Linked DNA regions of Homo sapiens: all the other regions are linked to region 1. Evidence: promoter capture Hi-C in human tissues and cell types (Jung and others, 2019). All regions are on one chromosome and are shown on one strand. The core of a region is centred on a gene start or on the middle of the fragment in contact, and the rest is flanking DNA. Distances in the headings are between cores, read along the strand shown.

Evidence for each region. The method cuts DNA at HindIII sites, captures the fragments that hold promoters and counts their contacts. A contact is called where the count stands out against the background at its distance.
Region 2: a fragment that was not itself captured here is called in contact with the fragment with the promoter of CLDN5 in region 1 in 6 of the 25 tissues and cell types used here (dorsolateral prefrontal cortex, heart left ventricle, mesenchymal stem cells and 3 more).
Region 3: a fragment that was not itself captured here is called in contact with the fragment with the promoter of CLDN5 in region 1 in 2 of the 25 tissues and cell types used here (dorsolateral prefrontal cortex and thymus).

Annotation. Positions count from the first base shown.
Region 1 is chr22:19,522,077-19,527,069 of GRCh38, forward strand. CLDN5 (claudin 5) reads right to left here and starts at 2,334. Exons shown (of 1, transcript NM_001363066.2): 1 at 951-2,334. The coding sequence starts at 2,179. The coding sequence ends at 1,523. RefSeq lists an enhancer at 17-949. The HindIII fragment of the contact is 10,668 bases long and covers 2,104-4,993 here.
Region 2 is chr22:19,410,000-19,414,992 of GRCh38, forward strand. HIRA (histone cell cycle regulator) reads right to left here. Exons shown (of 25, transcript NM_003325.4): 2 at 717-779. Among named protein-coding and RNA genes, the nearest start is that of HIRA, 19 kb to the right of the region's middle. The HindIII fragment of the contact is 5,454 bases long and covers 1-4,993 here.
Region 3 is chr22:19,451,742-19,456,734 of GRCh38, forward strand. UFD1 (ubiquitin recognition factor in ER associated degradation 1) reads right to left here. Exons shown (of 12, transcript NM_005659.7): 9 at 4,846-4,893; 10 at 3,939-4,027; 11 at 3,008-3,089. Among named protein-coding and RNA genes, the nearest start is that of C22orf39, 6.5 kb to the left of the region's middle. The HindIII fragment of the contact is 4,632 bases long and covers 1-4,283 here.

The DNA.
Region 1 (4,993 bases), core at 1,084-3,583:
CAGCTGCTCTCTTCTGCTTCTAGCTTTATGTCAAATGTCAAAAATGTGTTAATTCAAAGTGCCTAGAACAAGGCTAAAAACAGTGAGCTCTCAGTGGCTATGTTAGATGGCTCTAGACACCCCCATTCCGAGGTGCCTGGCAGGGGCCAGCACTGACTCCCAGGCCACACAGCCCCTGGAGGAGGAAGGTTACCCAGAGTGCCCCCAGCAGGGGCTGGCACAGGTGCTGGTTGTGAGCACCATTCTGGGCAGGCTGCCAGGCCAGCAGGGTGGGTACAGGCTCTGTAGGGAGCTGCGCTGGGACTGGCAGAGGAGCCAGGACGAGGGGCTAGAGCCAAGCTGTGGTACTCCAGGCAACCAGCTGCCAGCACCTCCTCCCATGGCAACCCTACTGTTGACCGGCGTGTCCTGCATTCACCCCTGTTCCTGCCCCACCCACCATTGGAAAGGGCCTGGTCGGGGATTCTACAGACCTCTGTGGCCACTTGATGGGGCTTGGGACTAGGCAAGCCCTGAGAGGGCAGTGGAAAACCTCACCCTGTGCTGTGTGGGGCTTGGCCCTTTCTGGGAGAAGCCAGCGGCCTGGCTGCTCACCCCCAGCACTTCCCACACCGCAGGACCCCCACTCACCAGCCTGTGTTGAGGGCGCTTCACCCCGCATCTTCTGCTGGGGTCTGCCGCTGCCCCCGCCCCTGTCCCATCCCGGGCCCCAGGGCCCCATGACGCAGCAGCTCTTCTGACCGCAGATCCCGCCTTTCTGGGCTGTAGTAAGTGGTGGCTGTGTCTCCCACCTGGTGGGAAGGTGGCAGGGAGGATGGGGAAAAGAGCCCCAGCCTCCAGCCCTGGGAGGAGGTCTCCACAGGAGTCCTTGGGAGGGCGGGGCTGGTGGGTGATGAATGGGGCTGCTGGACACGGAAGATGGCTGGACAGAGAACAGGACACAGGTGGGAGAGAGTTCAAACCATTTACTAAGCAGATTCTTAGCCTTCCCACTCCCGCCCTCTCTCAAGCTCCGGTGCCCACAAGCCTTGCCTGGGGAGATGCTGGAGTGAGACCGGGAGGTCCAGGCCAAGTCACTGGTCCCTGGGCTCGGGCCCTGCCGATGGAGTAAAGACCAGCTGTACACATCTTCCGGTGGGGGCCCTGGGCTCTGCATCCGCCCCTCCGAAGTCAGCAGGAGCCTCTGGGAAGTAAGGCAGCAGCCAAGACCCCCAGCGTCTTGGAGGGGAAGCGAAATCCTCAGTCTGACACCCGCTCTGCCTATGGAAACAGCGCCGCGCACAGAAAAGGAAACTTCATTCCGTCTGTTAAGGGCAGGGCCGGGCTAGTGGCAGGAGAAGGTCAGCTGCGGGCGCAGGCAGGAGCGGATCCAGGAGCCGCGTCGGGGCGCAGAGCCGGACGTTCCGAGGAGCCTGCGCGCCGCGCTACCCGGCGGAAGCCGCGGTCCATGCGGGGCTCCCCAGGCTTATCCAACGCCTCGCAGGCGTGGCTGGCAGGAGGGGCCCGGCCGTGCCCAGCGCCCTCAGACGTAGTTCTTCTTGTCGTAGTCGCCGGTGGCCGTGGGCCGCCGCGGCGCTGAGTACTTCACGGGGAAGCTGAGGTCGGGACGGCCGGTGCAGACCCAGGCGCCGCAGCACAAGAGGCAGCCGCCTACCATGAGCAGCGCGGTGGCCGCCCAGCCGATGTACAGCGCTGCGCCCAGCTCGTACTTCTGCGACACGGGCACAGACGGGTCGTAAAACTCGCGGACGACAATGTTGGCGAACCAGCAGAGTGGCACGAGCGCCAGCAGCCCGCAAAACAGGTAGAGCACGCCTCCCGTGAGGGCCACACGCGCCTTGGCCGGGCCCGGGGCCACGCAGGTGGTGCACTGCGCGCCCGCCAGGGTCACGAAGAGCGCAACGAACGCCAGCAGCACGGCGCTCACGGTGAGCGCCCGCGCCGCCTGCACCTCGGTGCTCAGAGCCAGCACCGAGTCGTACACTTTGCACTGCATGTGCCCGGTGCTCTGCACCACGCACGACATCCACAGCCCCTTCCAGGTGGTCTGCGCCGTCACGATGTTGTGGTCCAGGAAGGCGGTCACCTGCCACATGGGCAGCCCGCACGCCAGGATCAGACCCCCCCAGCCCACCAGGCACAGCACCAGGCCCAGGATCTCCAACGCTGCGGACCCCATGGCTAGAGGCGAGACGCGCACCCGAAGGCCCGCAGAACCCCCAAGGCCGTGCTGCGCGGCGCCCTGGGCGGGCCCTGGTGCCTTTGCGCCCGCGCTCCCGGCTCTTGGCCCCAGTCCGTTTGCCCCGCGGGTCTGTCGCACCTCCTGGGTCTGCCAGCTCCTGCCGGGGGGTACCCTCTTTGAAGGTTCGGGGGCGGATTCTGTCCCCCGGGCCCGGCCCCCCGGCCCGAAGCAGCCAATCCGTGCGCGGGTCATCGTGCCGCAGCCAATCACAGAGCCTCTGGCAGCTGAAGTTAGGGAAACAACGGCTCTTGAGGGGTAGCTGAGGGCGCGGGACCGCTCCCCGCCCGGCAGCCGCCCCCAGCCCCACCCGCCGTTGTCCTAGTCGCGGCCGAGCGCATTCTGGGCTGGCCTAGGGCGCGCTTCTTGGGCCGCCTCCCTGCGCGTCCCGGCCCCGTCACTTCAGAAGGCGCTCGACCCCCAGTCTGCACCACCCAGTCCACTCCCACATCCCCGACTGAGCCGGGTGGTCTCTTCCACTCGAGCCAGCTCCACTTCCCTGACCAAGGTTTGCAGAAGCCCCCCACCCCGTCACCGCCGTAGAGGCCCTCGTAGGGGGGCTCTCCAGAAAGCCCGCCCCGGGGTCCAAGCCCCACCCAGGCCCTTTCTCGCACTCTCACTCTCCAGCCCCGCTCTGAGTCCCAGCACTGTCTCTCTCATCCCATGGCAAACAGAGAGGCCAGGCAGGCGTGTGGAGGTCAGGCCCAGGGCCCCAGCCTCACCCCCCATGCCACTCACTGCCTCTCTGGAGCCTGAGTCTCTGGCAAAAAGCGGTGGCACAGGGGCTTTCCCCCTGCCTGGCGACCCCCACTCTCCCAAGCCGCAGGGGCTTCCCAGACCTCTCAATCTTCACAGGGGCTGCTCCTCTTCCTGCGGTACTGCCCGCACCCCATCCTTGGGGGCCCAGTTCAGGTGACACCACTTCAGGAAGTTCCCAGTGACCCAGCACACTGGGTGTAGCACCCAGGGGCAGTGGTGGCCCCAGGCCTAGCAGCCTGCTCTGGCCTTCAGACAGGAGAGACAAAGGGACACGGAGGGGCTGTGCCCTGCCCTCCCACCAGTGGCGATGGTGTCCCTGGCACCCCAGCCCCCAGGCCACCCTCCGGAAGCCAACTTGGAGTTTCCTGGCCAGGAGGAAGAGCCCCCATCCTTGCTGGAGGAGGGAGGCGCGGGATTTCCGGGCATTCTTCTGCACAATGGCCCAGCCATTTCTCGAAAGGTCCACTGGTGTGGACACTCCGGGCCCCCTGAGGCTCAGGTGGGGGCACGCGGCTCCAAAACCCACAGCCCCATGGGGGCACCAGCCCCTTTCTAGTAGTTCTTTCCCCAGTCTCTCTCGGCCCCTTTGTTTCCAGTAAAGTTTGAACTCCAGGCCCTGGACTGAGGCCACTGGGTGCCCAGTTCTTTTATCTGGTCTGTGCTCAGTTCCATTGGACAGGGCCCTCCATAGAAAAAGTATGGCACTGAGGCTGGTCACAGATGTGGGAGGTTTGATGACTTTCTCCCTCCTGGGGCCCGGTTCCCTTCTCCCCCTTCAGATGGCTCTGAGATGGTAAATGAGATAAGGCCAGCGTCTGGCTCACCTAGTGTGGGGAGGTTCTGAAGGCAAGTGTGCCCAGCCCTGAGGCTGGAAGGAAATCATACCCTCTTTGCTCAGCCCCACGTGGCCTCTCCCCACCAGGTATGGCTCTGAGGACCACTGCCTTCTCCCAGCTATCACTTTAGTCACTGCCTTCCTCCTGCTGCAGACCCATGGGCCATGCCCCTTCCTCTACAGACCCTCCTGGACATCTCCTCCTCTGTGTACTCCAGGGGTACAGCTGACCCACCCACCCTCTCACTCTTACTACCCCCTAACCCAAGCCCAGGGAACTTCCCCAGATCCCCCTACTCCCAGCCCTTCCATGCCACCATCTTCCTGGGATGACTGCTGCGGCCTCCTCAGGTCATCAGGGACCTGCCCTTGCCCAGCTAGGCCACCCACCCCACCAGGCCCCTCTCCTGGGCCTCACCCTACCTAAGACCCTCCATGGCTCACATTGCCCATGGACGAAGAGCCGACTCCCAGAGCAGCTGGATTGATGTGTACCTGCATGCGCTAGGACTGGCCAGTCCAGCCACCAGTCTTGGTGCGGCCCTGAGCACACACTCTGCCCCAGGAGACTTACCTGCCTATGGGCCTCACATGGGCCGTCTCTTACCTTGGCCTCTTCTGCCCGCAGCGTGTATCTGTCAGGTTGGGTCCTGCTCATCTTCTAAGATGTGTTGCCGAGGTCATTTCCAGGAACACCTTGCTGCACCGTCCCCCAGCATTGCTTTTAGAAGCTTGAGCTGGACCTGTCCTTTTGCTTGCCGACTTTCCCACCTAGTATCCAGGAATAACCTCCACAGGGTGGCTGTCTTCATGCGTCTGTCCTGCACAGGAGGCTGCCTGTTGCCCTCTAGCCAGCTTGGAGCTGCAGCCAGCCCAAGGCTCTCCCTTCTCACCTGGCTGCCTGTTTTTCTTCTCTCCTAGCTGTCACCCTAGGGTGGCCCCAGCAAGCTCATGTTTCTTTGGCGGCAGCCTCACAGCATCTCAGGGACGTGGCAGAGGAGTCTCAGGCTTCACCTTTCACAATCTGGTTTCTACCCTGACCCCACTATGTTGGTCGAGGCCCCAGGCTGCAGTGGAACAATGCCAATGCAGAGAGGCCCAGAGAGGGCCGCAGGGGCTGACGCCACCCCAGACAAACCCACCTCAGATGGAGGCTGGCC
Region 2 (4,993 bases), core at 1,445-3,944, 110 kb before region 1:
ACAAAGGCACTCTCTAAGTGCTGCCTGGGGAGGCCTGGTTGGAGGGAGGCCCCGCTCTGGGGTAAAGATGACAGAGGGCTGGGCTCTGTGGAATGCTACATTGTGTCACTATATATACATCTTGGTATTGTGGCATGAAGAACAGCTCTGTCTTTCCAAATAGAACCATGCAACATTGCAAAAGATGCTGGCTGAAGCATAAGGGCAATACTACCAATAACAGTTTCAAATGGTGTGGGCTTTCTTACTTGCCCACAGTGTGCTTTCTCTTTAACCTAACTGAATTCCTTTGACGAGAAAATGGGCCTAATAACTACACGATTGCTTTAGAAGCTTAAATTACCCTCATTCCCTTTTTTCAGATGAGAAAAATGCTGACAGAGCCCTTGTCTCTGGGGCTGGGCTTTGCCCACTGGACCACCTACCGCTCTCGATGCTCTACAAGTTTGGGGATACAAACTGATTTTAATATTAACTCAATAAACAGAAATTAGAATGATACATCCGCTGCCAAAATACTTACAGAGAGCACACTAAAGCCATAAAAGGATTTTGATTTTATTCATTCAGATAACACATTATAACTGTACATTTTAAACAGCGTTGCATCCATCCTGAAAAATAGCAAGTATTCCCTCTACAGCTAAATGGACAGCAGGAGAAGAGCAAGGTGGCAGGGCTGTTAAGCTTTCCCTTTCTTTATTCCATAAACATACCTTGTCCTCCAGTTGCGAACTTGGTCCCGTCAGGGTGAATATCAACTGAAAAAATCGGCTTGCCTGGAAACAAAGAAAAAAAAATACAGTATCTAAATTGGCTTTTATTCATTGAAGTGTATCAAACTCAACAGATTCAGTTAAAGTCTAAACTGCTAGAAGATTCTCCAAACATCAGACAACTGAAAGTCCAACAGTGGGAGAAAGCATTCCATCACTGAGAATGGCTGAGCCCATAGGATGCCTGGGCATTTGTCTGCCATCTTGTAGGGATGTGTGTTTGTAATGGCTATGAGCTGTTCATGATTGAAGTTCTGAGTCTCAGGTACTTAGTGAAAAGGGCACACAGCTGTAACTCCAGACATCTCCCTATTGCATGGATCTGCACTTGACTGGCAGCCTAGACAGAAGGACTGCTATTTGTCTTTTCTGGCTGACAGCTGAGCAGGACCAGCGCTGGCTGCAACCAAGGAGCATTGCTTCGCTTGTCATACTTCTGCTTCCAAACAGCCCTCTTTTGTTTGTGCTGTGAAGTTCCCATACCGTCTGCCATCTCAGCATCTCCTCTGGCTGAACCTCCTTCACAGTTTGTACTCTATGTTAAATTAGCTGTTCAATTCCTCCAGGAGAAAGGACTGTGGCTATTAGTTCTTAGAAGCCCCAAAGAGCCCAGTATGGGCCTAGGCTTGCACTAGGATCCCATGAAGCTAGCTGGCTGGCTGGGTGGGTGGATCAGACCGGCAAAAGCACTGTAGGAGCTTGAAACCCAGCAGACCATAGAAGGCACTCACGCCTGGTGGGCATTTGTCCAGCTCCCTGCTTCTAGGACAAAGGTTTAAGAGCTACAAGTGGCATGTCAGTTGCTGTTGAGTTCATCACATCTTCAGCCTCTAGCACAGTACCCAGTGTACAGTAGCGCAGTAATATTTGTTCATTGACAAAGGAGATACATGACAATGATCTGAGCATCAACAATTGCTGATATAGATGGGCTGTTGCCAAGAGTCTCTTAATTGAACATGTTCTGTCTCTGTCACCCAAGAGGAGGCAATGTGGACACAGTACCAGAGTCACCAGCCCTAGAATCACTCAGCAAGTACTGGGATCAGGAGTGTGTGGGCAGGCAGTGGCTGTCTGAGAACTGTGAAGTCCTGCCAGGGCTCCCATGCAAGTGTGAAAATTAAATGCTGGTGCCCAAAAGGCACTGCCCAGCATGGGACCCAGGCAGCACCCAGCTGTGGAGAGCCGCAGCCATGTAGTCAAATCAAGCATGAACTTGAGATAAAATACACTTTCCTTCTTACTGGTCACTATGTAGTATAGGTTGAGTATCCCTTATCTGAAACACCTGGGACCCGTTTTAACCAAAGGGAAATGACAGAAGTAATGTTGCTCCAGTTCCAGGTGTAGGCCTTAAGAGTCTAGCAGTTCAACTTTGGCTCTCTGGAGAAACCTAGTTGTCATGTGAGAAGTCCAAGTACCCTGAGACCACCATGTTTTGAAGAGGCCCAAGCTGGCCACATGTAGAGCATCAAAGAGCCCGGACAAGTGAGAATCAAGGTCACAGACACAGGCCTGGTGAGGTGTTCTATCCCCAAGCTATTCGAGCCATCCCAGCAGATTCCATAGAGCCAAGATGAGCTGAACCTGCTAAGTCCTGACAAGCTGCAGAATTATGAGCAAATAATAAAACTGTTATTGGTTTAAGCCAGCAAATTTAGGGGTTTGTCATATAAGAGATAAACCAAAATGCCAATTCATTTGCTTTTCTGCTTAAGCCAGCTTGAGCTGGGCATTTGTCATTTTAACAAAAAATGTTCTAGCTGACAGCTTTGGTCTTGACGGGCAATCAGGGCGGAACATTCCCCTCCCCTTGGAGTGCTTTTCAGTTCCATAAGTCTGTGAGACATTGTATTACATCAGTCCCCTCAAGAAGCACACCAGAAACCCTTACCTGCAAGTCACAGTTCCCCTGACTACCCAAGAGCACGTACAGGCTGAGCCAGGCTGTGCTGAGGGCTCAGCTGCACAAGTAACCAATTACAGCCCATGCGCTTTAGATCATGCCCACTCACAGCATCAACTGCATGTTTTCTCACTCAGTCTCTGTTTGCAGATTTCTACTATGTGCCAGGCATTAGGCTAAGCAATGAGAAAGTAAAGATACATAATCATACAAACTCCCCTAGTAAGATGTCCACTGATGGACACTTCACAAGCAGAAAGCCACCTGACTCAGCCTCGGGCTTCCTGCAGAAATAATAACTGAATTGGGTCCCAAGGGTTGAGTAAGAGTTAGCCAGAAGATCGGGTGAAGGAGAGGGTTTTCAGGCTGAGGGGACGCACGGCATGGAATCAAGAAATAGGCTGATGTAATGTTGCAGAGCAGACTGCAGGTAGAGAGTGTGAGAAAGAAGAGGAGACAGAGATGGCTCAGCAAGCATCAGTAAGGAGCTGAGACATTTCTCTAAAGGTACTTTCAAGGCAGGGTAATGCCAAGGTCAGATTCACATTCTGGCTCCACAATAGCAGTGTGGAAAATGGGGGTGGGGGCCTCAAGGCTCCAGGGGAAGGCAGGGATGGAGGCTGGCAACAAGTTTGGGTTTTGGCATTAAACATCATGGGCTGAATCTTTAGCCCTGCCACTTACCCAGCTACAAAGCCTTGAGATTTTATTTTATTTTATTTTTATTATTTTGAGAAGGCGTGCCTGGTTCATTGGCACCAGGTTTCCTTTCCTAGTGCTATGCAGATTAGATGAAATATGGTAGGGGACCTACACAGATACCAGCGCAGTGCTGGCTCCCCGCCTCCTTACAGCACTAGGCCTTTCCATCCCAAGGAAAGCAGTCACTCACATTCCATTAGTGGGAATGAAACTATTTATTTATTTATTTATTTATTTATTTATTTATAGACAGAGTTTCGCTCTGTCGCCCAGGCTAGAGTGCAGTGGCGTGATCTCCACTCACTGCAAGCTCCGTCTCCCAGGTTCACGCCATTCTCCTGCCTCAGCCTCCTGAATAGCTGGGACTACAGGTGCCTGCTACCACGCCCAGCTAATTTTGGTATTTTTAGTAGAAACAGGGTTTCACCATGTTAGCCAGGATGGTCTCGATCTCCTGACCTCATGATCCGACCACCTCAGCCTCCCAAAGTGCTGGGATTACAGGGGTAATCCCGGCCACCGTGCCCGGCCAGGAATGAACCTCTTCTAAAGGGCTCTCTGAGGTGGAGCTAAGGAAAGGGACCTTCTGGCTGAGCTAGTTAGACAACTCTTCCTGTGGCACAGCATGATGATGACAAAGATGAGTTCCCAACTACCTCCAGTGTCTGGCCTTTCTTTGTAATAGAGACAGAAAGAAAAGACAAATTAACACACCCTAGACTCTAGAGACACCAAGCAATCACCTATCCTTAGATCAACCCCAGATCAGAATGTTGTCCCTGCACACCCAATACACAGCCAATATAGTCAGCCACTGTCTACTGTCTGGGGATTTGCTGATTTGACAAGAGCAGCACAAATGCTTTCCACCTGGCAGGGAATAAAGAATACATTAAGGAAGCTGGGATTATGACAGGGCATGCTCAGGTAGAATCGTACCCTCCTTCACACTAGGGGAAAGATTCCTAGAAGAGGACTAAACATGGGAACTTAAACTCTGAGCACAGAGAGGTGGCCAGAGGCAAAGCAGAGAGGGCACAATGGAGAGCTGCTGGCCCTTCCCTCTCAGCAGTCCCACAGACCTTTGGTTTGGCTCCAAAAAGTCTCTGGGCTTTTATGTTCTGATAGTTCATTGGGTAGAGCTGACTGGAACACATGTGCATATGTCCTTTTGGAATGAAGCTTGGGAAAGTTGAGGCTTTTGCCCAGTGAATGTTGCTCCTGGGAACACTTCCTGCACTGCCCAATAGAACTTGGTTTTAACCAATGTTGACAAATTTAGAATTAAAAATAAGAAAATGTTTGAAACATTTATTAAATGAAACAGTTACAGAACAATACTAAAATATAAGGTGGGGCCGGTCATGGTGGCTCACGCCGGTAATCCCAGCACTTTGGGAAGCCAAGGCAGGTAGATCACTTGAGGTCAGGAGTTTGAGACCAGCCTGACCAACAGGCGCACCATTGCACTCCAGCCTGGGTGACAGAGTGAGACTGTCTCAAGAAACAAAACAAAACAAAAAATATATAAGGTGGGTGCAAACAACACAAACTTATTTATTTATTTATTTATTTATTTTGAGACGAAATCTCACTCTGTCACCCAGGC
Region 3 (4,993 bases), core at 718-3,217, 71 kb before region 1:
TTGCCGCACAGCCTTCCATTCATCCTGGTGTCAATAGCTGTGTTTGGCTTCTTCCTCTATTCAATCACAGCCTGCATTGCATGGAGTTCATCTGTTTTGACAAACCTGTGTCTCCTGGGCCTTCGCCCTGCCGTACCTGGACTGGCCTTTCTCTAGGTGCCGTACATGTTAGTGGGGGCTCCTTATTTCCTGGATTCTATGACTTTCTTATTTCTACCTTATTCCTTCATTTTAGTGAGGAACACCTCCTAGGAGCTTCCTGAGAAAAGATGCATGAGGATTATCTTCTTGTGAGTTCCTTTTTTCTAATCTCATATTTCATTGATAGGCTGGTTGGTATGTTAGTCTGCTAGGGCTGCCATATAAAATGCCAAAGATAGGGTGGCTCAAACAACAGAAATTTATTCTTCATAGTTTTGGAGGCTAGAAGTGCAGGATCAAGGTGTCAGCAGGTTTGGTTTCCTCTGACACCCTTTTCCTTGGCTTGCAGATGGCTGCCTTCTTGCTGTGTCCTCACATGGCCCTTCCTATGTCCAAATTTCCTCTTCTTAAAAGGACACCAGATTGAATTATGGCCAACTCTAATGGTCTTATTTTAACTTAATTGCTTCTTTAAATGGCCCTATCTGAGTTACTGGGGGTTAGGGCTTCAACACAGAAACACTGGAGGGACACAATCCAGCTCATAAGAGTTGGTACAGAATTTTAGGTTGGAAAAAATTTCCCCTCAGAATTTTGAGTATATTGCTCCACTATCTTCTAGTTTCCTCTGTGTCCTGCTAAGATGATGTCCCTTTTTTTGGGAGACAGGGACTTACTGTTACCCAGGCTGGAGTGCAGTGGTGTGATCTCAGCTCACAGCAGCCTCCACCTCCCAGGCTCAAGTGATGCTCCCAACTCAGCATTAAAGTAGCTGGGACTATAGGTGCGTGCCACCATGCTTGGCTAATTTTTAAAATTTTCTGTAGAGACAGGGTCTCCCTATATTGCCCAGGCTGGTCTCAAACTCCTGGGCTCAGATGATCTTCCCGCATCAGCCTCCCAAAGTGTTGGGATTACAGGTGTGAGCCATGGCGCTTGGCTGATGATGTCCTTAATGCATGGTGATACCTCTGTTCTCTCTCTAGAAGCTTTAGGATCTTTCTTTGCCTCAAAGTGGGGCTATTTTCATTCATTTTGCTGGAACTCAGTGAGCCCTTCAAATCTGCAAAATTGTGCCCATCTTTGGGGAAACTATTTCCCTGATGATTTCTGCTCCTTTGGTTTCTGTGGCTGTTCTTCCCACAAATCCTCTATTATTTAGATGCTGGAATGGAAAGCTTTCTGACTGTGGCCTTCACTTCAGAGATAGTAGTCTAGAGACCTACTGGAGTCGAGCCTCCAGCCTTCTGGGATGGGGGAGGGAGGGTAATGCAGCTCTAACTGCTTAGTAACAGAATTCTGTCTTTAGTCCCTCATTTCTAGAGGTGCCTTTTGAGAATTCCACAATCTACACAGAACTGCTTCTAGGCTTTCTATGGTCTACTAAGGTACCTGGGGCTTCCAAAGCCTTGTAGTTGCCTCCTCTTCCACTGTCTTTCTTACCTCATGACCTTTAGCCACAGCCTTAGTGGGGCTGCAGGATGGAATAGAGCTAAATATGTCTTCAATCCCATCTTTAAACATATACTTCTTAAATACATATTTATGGTCAAACAGGCCTGCTGTGCCCACTGGCCTCCCCTGCCTTCTGTAAATTTGCAACAGTCAGGTCACAGTCAGCCTGGGGGACGTCCCATGCTAAGGTCTTAGGTCGGAGTCAGGCACTGGCTTTTAGTGAGAAAGGCAGCCTGTAGCTGGTGAAGCCTGGATGGTGCCTGAAGGAGGAGCTGGAGGGTGAGGTCTGACTGGCCACTATGTTTGCTCCTCTGAGCCTGAAAGGTCCCAATGCCCAATGCTGTTTCAACTTGAACATTGAGCCCAGAAGTGGTTGTGAGTAGGACCAGGTGTGCAAACTTCACAGTGGTCTCTGTCCCCAACCACCCCAAGTGCTAGAGAAAAGAGTTCAGTAATTGGGATGGCTCCCATGTAGCAGCTGGTCCTGAATGGGTGGCTCAGTACATCTGCCCTCTGCCCTGATCCTGGATCCTCAAGGGTCCAATCCTTTGAGAAAAGGAACCAGGAGAGCGATGGGTCTGAAGCGCTGGTGTTGTAGAAATCCTCATCACAAAGAGGTGACTGCGTTCCAGTTGCTGCCAGGCCTGGCCATATTCCCACAAAGTGCCCATGTCTACAGGATGCTCAGCCCTTGCCTTCCTCTGTCCCGCCACCACCCTGCTCAGCTAGAAGGTGCTGCCTATATTTGAAGTTCAAGGTCTCTGTTGGAAGACGAAGCCCACCCAGGGCACACAGTTCTGTGATAACAGAGCCTGGAGTCGGCTCTAGAGCAAGACAGAGCTCCTGACCCCCATGCTGCAAGTCTTCTGTTTCATACACCCTACACCAGCTCTACAGAAAAAAACAGGACACCAGGGAGCAGAGGGACCCTAGGAAAGGGAAAACATGACAGACACCCTCATGTGGTTTGGCTGCGTCCCCACCCAAATCTCATCTTGAATTACCACGTGTTGTGGGAGGGACCAGGTGGGAGGTAACTGAGTCGGTGGGAGGTAACTGAGTCATGAGGGCGGGTCTTTTCCGTGCTGTTATCATGATAGTGAATAAGTCTCATGAGATCTGATGGTTTTATAAGTAGGTGTTTCCCTGCACCAGCTTTTTCTCTGCCTGCTACCATCCATGTAAGATGTGACTTGCCCCCTGCCATGATTGTGAGGCCTCCCCAGCCATGTGAACTGTAAGTCCATTAAACCTCTTTCTTTTGTAAATTGCCCAGTCTCGGGTACATCTTTACCAGCAGCTTGGAAACAGACTAATGCACACCCCTACTCAGAATGCCAAGAACTTCAGTCATCACTAGCAAATAAATCTCCTCATTACCAACCAAGGAAATACAAGGAAATACACTCACCTCTTCAACCTTTTTGACAAGGGGACGTGAATTTCTGATGAAAGTTATCTTACCAAGTTTAAATTCATAATTGGGAATTCCTCTGTAAGAAGAGACAGAGACAGAGAAATGTTATTTCCAGGAAAAAAGGACTAAAATTCATTTTTGACAGTCAAGAGGAACGCAGAAAAGATGCTGCTGCACCCCACCTGGGCCCTTTGGTGCTTCCTGGCATCCTCCCAGGAGGGAAGCAGAAAGTAACTGACTTCTTGGTTTGGTATCAATATTGGGTATAGGGCCAGGGGCTTTAGGCTCTGTACCTGTCTATGGAGAGGGGTCATCTGAAGGATTGGGAAGCCCTCACTGTCACTGTCCTGAGCTTCACAGAACCCCCTGAGGTGGCTAGACTCTCACTCCAGTATTCTGATTTCACACACACAACAGACAACTGACACACCTCAGCCCTGCCCCTGCCATCATGGCCACCAGAGGAAGGGTCTGCTGTGGGTCCCCGGACCCAGCAACAGAAGCACATCTGAGGTAGCTCCTCAGGGAACTTTCAGGGGAACTGAGATAATGTGACCTGATTAATAATTCCAAGTCACAAAACAGGAAAATAGGCAGATCACCAAATAGGGACCAGAAAGGTTTTGAGTAAGAGACAGATCTAATCAGACTCGCATCTTAGGAAAGCCAGTGGGGGCAAGAAGAGGCTGAATTGGGGGTATGGAGAGGTATGGAGAGAGGCTGGACCACAGTGGTACTGGGGGTGGCACTGTGGAAGGAGGGGCATGTTGTGCTCCACCCCACCAAGGAGAGCAGCTAAGGGTTTTAGTCCCTTGGGAGACTACTGACCCAGGCTTTGTCTCCAGAACTGGGGTGAGGCTGCCCGACCCCAGCGGGCTGGCACAGATCCTCCTCCTGTCCTGGAGGAGAGCCAGGACAGACCTACCTTTTAATATCTCCAGGCTTGATTGGGGAGGGGCTGGGCTCTACCCCTTTCTTCTTTCCATCCAGTCTATTGCCAGATCCAGAGAAAGCCTAGACAGGAAGTAGGTGAGTCATATAATAAGCCCAAGTGTGAGGACGATATGTCCTTTGCTTGGAGATCACTGCAGGGATGTGAGCTGGGGGTGCTGTGCAGACCCCTTCAGGACTGAAGCCCTGACTCCTCAACTGCTGGGGTGCTGGCAGCTAAGAACTCTGCCCAGTTCCTCAGGGGGTGGCCATGAGCTGAAGACAGCCACTTGGCCAAGGGCAGCCAGCAGTCAGTGTTGGGTTAAAAGACCTGATCCCTGCCTCTGCAGGGCCACCCAGTTCAAGCTCTATGGGTGGGCTAAGGCTACTGTTGTGACTGCCCCATAGCTCAGCTTCCCATCATTCTGCCCTCTCTGCTGCTTCCTGGCACCTCCTGCCACCTCAGTGCCCACACATGAACCACCTCCACCTGTTTCCCATGGAGCCTTGCCAGTAGTTATGCTAAGGGTCATGTTTGCAACCTACATGGTACAGGCAAAGAAAAAAGGAAACATGATTTACAAGAGAGAGAAAGCAAATGTGGTAACTTTTGGTGAACCTAAGGGAACAGTATATGTCTACTGTACTATTTAAACTCTTCGGTAGGTTAGAAATTCTTAAAAATCTGGGCTGCCTTATGGGGCTGTTGGGAAGATTCCAGGAGAGAGTGGATACAAAAGGGTTTGGTAACTGAGCGAGTGGCAGATTTGCATATGCACAGGTACCCAGAGGCCTAACCCCTGCTGATGTCCATCGAGCATCATGGAGAACACCTTGAGTGAGTGCTCTAATTTCAAGGAGCAGAGGGCACAGCAATATAAGTCAAGTGGTCTGGTACTCACGCGGAAGCCCAGCTCTCCAGCATAGCCACTGTGGTCGGCTTCACCTTCCTGACAGGGAAAAAGAAAAACAGGTGAGCTCCTCAGCGGGGACACCCAGCTTCCCTCTCACCCCCACCCCCGGCTAGGATGTCCCCCGGAAGCATGGCTG